2 separate regions of the Homo sapiens genome follow, and region 2 is linked to region 1. The links are contacts of gene promoters, found by promoter capture Hi-C in human tissues and cell types (Jung and others, 2019). All regions are on one chromosome and are shown on one strand. Each heading gives the region's core, a stretch centred on a gene start or on the middle of the fragment in contact. The rest is flanking DNA. Distances are from core to core; before and after follow the strand shown.

The links. The method cuts DNA at HindIII sites, captures the fragments that hold promoters and counts their contacts. A contact is called where the count stands out against the background at its distance.
Region 2: a fragment that was not itself captured here is called in contact with the fragment with the promoter of TMEM132D in region 1 in 1 of the 25 tissues and cell types used here (lymphoblastoid cells).

The regions. Positions count from the first base shown.
Region 1 is chr12:129,902,620-129,906,208 of GRCh38, forward strand. TMEM132D (transmembrane protein 132D) reads right to left here and starts at 1,406. Exons shown (of 9, transcript NM_133448.3): 1 at 642-1,406. The coding sequence starts at 720. The HindIII fragment of the contact is 10,076 bases long and covers 1-3,589 here.
Region 2 is chr12:128,213,754-128,217,176 of GRCh38, forward strand. No RefSeq gene overlaps it. Among named protein-coding and RNA genes, the nearest start is that of TMEM132C, 52 kb to the right of the region's middle. The HindIII fragment of the contact is 6,040 bases long and covers 1-3,423 here.

The sequences.
Region 1 (3,589 bases), core at 156-2,655:
AACTCCACGTGCACCCTGCGGGGCCGCTGCTGCTCCCAGCACCCTACGGAAGGGTGAGCGCCAGACCCTGTGCCCAAACCTCACAGCGGCAGACCTGGAGAAACCCATCCCCCTTCTTCAGAGCCGCCCCCCAGGCTATATTTTTGGCAGCCTATAATACACAAAATAGTATTCCCATACAACAGGAGTGCTCCAAAATTATTTCCAAATAGGTCAGTGCCACCAGGGAAAGTCAATCCCAAATTCCAGAAATCTCCCTGGTCATCTCAATCCCCTCCTCCCCCGACAGCCGGCTCGGCCCTCCAGAGGCCACCTTTCCTCTCAAGGGTCCCCACGCCCTCTCCCTTTACAGAAAAGGCTTTCAGGAAACAGCCTTCCTTTCCTTTCGGCTCCTTAGTAGTCTCACCTAAGGCCTCCCACCCAAGTGCTCCAGGACAAGCACCTTCGGCCAAGGGGCGTCCGAGGAGCTTGGCTGCCGCACGAGCGCACGTTCACACGCGCGCACACACACATGCACACAAGCGCGCACACACACTTGCACACGAGCCCTCTCTCCCGGCCGCCCCCATCCTCCACACACTCCCACACACTCACTCCAGGCGAAGTTAGTCCCCGGGCCCTGGCGGCCGCGGCGTCCTCACCTTTGGAAAACAGGGCGGCCAGGCTGATGAGTACCGGCGACCAGTGGTGCCACAGCGTCCCCATCTCAGACGGGCACATCCTGGAGACCCGGAGCGCAGATCCTCCGCTCCCCGGCGCCGTCCAGGCGAACAAGAGACCGTCTCAGTCCCCTAGAGGCCCGCAGCGGGGCCGGTGGCGAGGGAGCGCCCGGCTAGGGGCCCGAGCAGCCCGGGCGCCCTGCTCCCTCTTCCCGCCAGTCCATGGCCAGGCCGGGAGGCGACGACCGCGCGGGCTCCTGAGTTGCTCTCCGGAGTCCAACACGCGCGCAGGCAAACCCCACCTCCCTCCTTCGACCCCAACAGAATTTTTTTTAAATTTTAATCCACAGGGGGTATTTCCTTTCCTGTTTACCCGAGCGAAGAGTGGCCCCCGGTGGCCCAAGGAGGGGCGCCTCCAGGCGCAGGGCTCCGGCGGCTCCAGCTGCTCCCGGGCTGGCTAGCGGGCGCTGGCGCAGGCGGCGCCGGGGTGGCGGGGCTGCGGAGCCCGGGACGCGGGCAGAGGCGGCTCGGAGCCCCCCGGGCGGGTGGCCGGGCTCGCTGGGCGGCCCGGGGCTCCCTGGCCCGCAGCCCCCATCCCAGGCCGGCCGCTGCGCCTCGGGGCTCGGGCGCGCGCGCGCTCCGGCACCCAAAGTTTGGCGGGTGCGGCTGCTCCCCGGCCGCCGCCTCGGCCCGCCCGGCCCCGGGCCCGGCTGGGGCTCGCGGGGCTCTACGCGCGCCGAGCGCACTGCAGGCTCCGGAGACGCGGGGCTCCCCCCTGCGCCCGGGGGAGGCGGGCCAGATGTGCGCGGAGGAGGGCCCGCCGGCTCGGGGACGCGGCCGAGCAACGCAGCTGCCTCCTGCCAGCAGGCGCGGGGGCTCCGCTCCGCAAGGACCGCATCCGGAACGGAACGGAGGCGATCGCCACGGTGCCCGGAGCCGGCTGGGGCTTTCGCCTTAAAAATTTGTCTGCTTTTAAAAAGCCCCACCCTTTCGGAGTGACAGCTGTGAGCCCCAATCCGCAAAGTAAATCCCACCTCCCCCTGGCCGCCCCACGCCCAGCCTCCCGGCCACCCTCCCTGCGAGCGCGGACGCGCGGTGGCGGCGGGCGAGGGCTCCCAGCGCGGGCGCACCCCGGGGACGGAGCCACCCACTCTCCCAACAGGTGTCCAGCTGGCCACCGGCCTCTCGTCGTCATCAAAACCTCAGGCCCAGGGGAGGTCCTCCAGCCCGGGGGCACCTGAGGCTCTTCGCCAGGGAGAGCGCAAGGATGGCTGGAGAAGGGCCCTCGCCCCGCCCTGCGCATCTCCCAGGGATCGCAGTGAGGAAGTCTCTGACACGCCACACTGAGGTCATGCTGGCCCCAAGCCCCTTCCCAGAGCGATCCCCCAAGTTAGTGTCCCTAGAAACATGTCGTGTGCTCCCCAGGGCTCACTGGGAAAGGAAATGGATCCATTAGGAGACAACATTGCTTTGAGAAGATAAAAGACATGATTCTCAACACCGCCCGGAATCTCCAACTAAGACATTCCCACACCAAGATCCCTAAGCACCGTCCTGTAATTTGTAGCCCAAGAACTGCTTTGCTCCACGAGAGCCTTTAAATTAACCCCATCAAAGCTCAGAGGGAAGAAAAGCATTCAGAATTTTTAAGGAATATTGTAAACCAACAAGCCCTGAATCTAATGAGGTGAATTCACCTCAGTAGATAAAAATGGGTCGTTATCATCTGACTGAGGGGGCAATGGACTTTTTTATCCTGTATGCCTGTAGTTGCAGAAATATACCAATGCTTTAAGAGTTTTTAGCTTTCAAAGTTTCAAGGAAGATCAAAAAAGCCACTGCTGTTCTACCGAAGATTGTTTTTCTGGGTTCATGTCCTTTGAGATGTGCTCTTGTCTTTTATTCTGTATCTACTTATCTGAATATATCTGTCTTTCTGTTTTTTCTTTTGTTTGTTTCTTAAACTTGTTGCCTTTTCTCTTTGTATTGCTCTCCTGTAAAATTCCTAAGAGTCGACGCTGCAAAGACCCTAAGAGATTGTCTCTTTCACTGTTTCTGAAGTTTGAACCAGCAGGAGAGTCACTGGAAAATTTGTTAGACCTGGGTTGCTGGGCCCACCCCAGAGCTATCTCGGCAGGTCAAGGTGGGACTTCCGATCTCCGTTCCTAAAAAGTTCCAGGTGATGCTGATGCTGCCGGCCTGCGGAACACGTGCTGGAACCACTGGTCCCCTTTCTCCTTCACCTGAGTGATGAGAGAGCTGAGCTTTCGTCTCTTGGACACCTTCACCTGGTCTCTGAGTGTCAAAATTGATGCCCGCACTGAATGCATAATCCAGGTTCCATCCTTAACGCTACAGTGGGTCTGAGTCTATTTGTAAATCATCTATTTGTGACACTGAGTCTATTTGTAAGACATTTCTCAGACATATTGACTAGAAACAAGTGGTCCCTGTTCTTTATTAAAAACAATCATTTTATGTTTCTCTAAATCAAATTGAGTTTTTCCCCTGAATTGCAATCATCAAATAACTTTTCTTTTTGCCATTGCAGAAGGTTTCTCTATCTGTAATGTGAAGACAAAAGGTGACTGTCAAGTTCCAGCTGCTGCCTAAAATGTTAAACGGTTTCTTCATTATGCGTAGTTGGCGAAACAAAAGTTTTTTCCACTCTTTGGTATGGAAGATTTTTTGGGAAGATGCAACTTCAGATACCTAATCAGTGGCTAAAATAAGATGCAAGAATGGCTTCTTACTTTTTCTCTCTCCAGTATGCCATTCTCCCTGGTACATCTAATCTTCTTTGGGTAATTAACACAGCTAATTGTGGGGAAGCAAAACTTAGACTTGGAGATGGACACTGAGGGCTCATAGGTCCCTAACTCCAGCCCCTGCCCCAGGACAACTTCCCATCAAAATCGCCTGCCTTGTCT
Region 2 (3,423 bases), core at 376-2,875, 1.7 Mb before region 1:
ACAACTTTCTGGTCAGGCATTTGTTTGTCAAAGTATCTTGAGTTAAAAGTCTGTTTTCTCAAAACCTCAAGCTGTTCTGCTGAAGAAACAATATGCAACAATATGAAACAACATGCAACAGTATAAAACAATGTGCAACAATATAACATGTGACAATATGAAATAACATGCAACAATATAAAACAGTATGCAACAGTATAACATGCAACAGTATGAAACAATATAAAACAACATGCAACAATATAAGACAATATGAAAACAATATGCAATAATACGAAACAACATGTAACACTATGAAACAACATGCAACAATATGAAACAAAACAATAGAACATGCAACAATATGACACAATATGCAACAATATGAAACAACATGCAACAATATGAAACAATATGAAACAATGTGCAACAATATAACATGTGACAATATGAAATAACATGCAACAATATAAAACAGTATGCAACAGTATAACATGCAACAATATGAAACAAAACAATATAGCATGCAACGATATGAAACAACATGCAGCAATATGAAAACAATATGCAGCACTATGAAACAACGTGCAACACTATGAAACAACATGCAACAATGTAACATGCAAAAATATGAAGCAATATGCAACATATTGTTCAAGCAGCAGAGATGCTGCTGCTGATCTTCCACTGTACATTCCAAAGGACATTTCACCCTATCAAAAAGTCGAAATAAAAAAATGGTAATGCTCTTCACTGTTAATAGTGATATAGTTGTTTGCAAAACTTTCCATTTCAGAAGCAATTACCCCTGTTTCTGCACATCTATCAAAAGATACATTCAAATACTCCTGTTGAAACTCTTTTTTAAGTTGCTTCTGAAGATGTGGTGCAGAGTAAATGGGTTTGTGTCTAGGTGTGTTCATCCAAGGTGTATCTGGTCTTGAAGAACGGAACGATCCGACTTTCAAGCACTCACAGGGACCATTTGAATTCCCCCAGTGAACAGGTGCCTTCTGGTGAGTGAATCTGAGCTCCACAATGTGTGTTTGGGAAACGCTGCTGGTCTGAGAGTGAACTCCAACATGTTTCCATTCCCTGTTCCAAACATGTCGTTCCAACCTGTGGCAAAAGGTGTTGGCTCCAAACCCAAAATCCATCCCTCCCCTCAGAGTAGGTGACCTCATCTATGTCTAGATCAGGGGTTAATCCAGAATACTCTAAGCCAATCATGGTGTCCCTTGCCCCACCAGTGTTTGGTTTAGGGGTAGGCATGTGACCTGCATCTGACCAACGAGATGTGAGAGAAAATGTGCTGGGCGTTCCCTGGAAGAGGTAGAGTCCGAGAAGGAGATGGGACAACGGAAGCAGAGGTGGGAGGGATGTGCTTTGAAGATGGAGGAAGGAGCCATGAGCCAGGGAATGTCAGCCACCTCTAAAGGCTGGAAAAGGAGAAACACAGAACATGGCTGGATCCTGACAGCAGCCCTGGAACTTCAGCCCCATCTGCCAAAGTGAGGGGAGCCAGCCTGAGGACCCAGGGAAGCAGAAAGTTGTGGAGACTTTATTTGGAGCTGCTACACATTAACCTCTTCTGGAGCTTCCACCACTTAGAACATTTTGATTTGTTAGATGCTAAATTTTCCTTGACATTTAGGTATTTGGGGTTGGTTTTTCTGTTATTTGCAGCTGGAAGGATTTTTACTAATCCTCCGCACTGTCTTCCAATATAAAGGCTGGCTGCTAGGAAACCCCCCTTATGCTCCAAATGCTAAGCTCTAACGACCACCTGGTCTTGAGACAATGCAGAAGAAATTCTACCTGGCCAGTTAACAAACTACATATTCTGTCTTTTACCGTACAAATATGGTCTAGATTTGTCTGCCTTCTCACAGTAAGGCTGGCCAAGCCTCTCTCAACCATCAAGCATGATTCATCAGTTTACCTGGACTGGGAGGAAGATGGTGTGGTGGCTAGGAGTGAGGTCTCTGGGACTAAAACCAGCTTGTCCAAATCTCAGCTCTGTTAGGCTGAATAATGGCCCTCAACGATGCCCACATCCTAACCCCCGGAACCTGTGATTATGTGACCTTGCATAGGAAAGGGGACTTTGCAGACATGGTTAAGCTAACACTCTTTACATGGGAGATTATCCTGGATTATCTGGGTGGGCCCAAGTTCCTCACAAGGGCAAGAGAGTCAGAGAAGGAGACAGGATGATAGAAGCAGAGGTGGGAGGGATGTGCTTTGAAGATGGAGGAAGGAGCCATGATCCAGGGAGTGTCAGCTGCCTCCAGAGGCTGGAAACAGAAAGGAAACAGATTCTCTGCCAGAGCCTCCAGAAGGTATGCAGCCTTGTCCACCCCTTGACTTTAAACCTCTGACCTCCAGAACTGAAAAAGAATAAATGTATGGTTTTTTAAGCCACTAAGTTTATGCAACAACAGGAAACCAATACACCAGATCCAACACTCACCGTCTGTGGGGACCTTGAGACAGTTGCCTAACACACTTGAACTTCAGGTTCCCCTCTGTGAAATGGGCATAGTGATAATAACTCACAGGTTCGTTACAATGCTTTGACATTTTAACGCAAGCAAGGTCCTAAGAAGAGTTCCTGGTTGATAAGGTTTGCATGTGTGTTCCCACCCAAATCTCATGTTAAAATGTAATCCCCAGTGTTGAGGTGGGGCCTGGTGGGAGGTGATTGGATCATGGAGGCAGAGTTCTCATGAATGGTTCAGCACCAGCCCCCTTGGTATTTTCCTTGCAATAGTGAGTGAGTTCTCACAAGATCTGGCCGTTTAAAAGTGTGAGGTACCTCCCCACTCACGCTCTTGCTCCTGCCTTCCCCATGTGATGTGCCTGCTCCCACTTCGCCTTCTGCCATGATTGGAAGCTTCCTGAGGCCTCCTCAGAAGCCGAGCAGGTGTCAGTACCATGCTTCTTGTACAGCCTGCAAAAATATGAGCCAATTAACCTTCTTTTCTTTATAAATTACCCAGTCTCAGGTATCTATAGCAAATGCAAAAACAGACGAATACAATGGTACATACTAAGTAAGTGCTCAACGGTTTTAAGCAATATTAATTTCATTCCTTCCCTAAAATATATTCCATAAAACATTATCAAACACTTTTGATTTTGCTGAAAATTTCATGGAAAGAAAAGATAATTACGGCTGGGCCCAGTGGCTCATGCCTGTAATCCCAGCACTTTGGGAGGGCAAGGTGGGTGGATCATGAGGTCAGGAGATCGAGACCACCCTGGCTAACACAGTGAAACCCTGTCTCTACTAAAAATACAAAAAATTAGCTGGGCATGGTGGCAGGTGCCTGCAGTCCCAGCTACTCGGGAGGCTGAGGCAGGAGAATGGTGTAAACCCGGGAGGCGGAGCTTGCAGTGAGCCAAGATCGCACCACTGCACTCCAGCCTGGGCAACAGAGT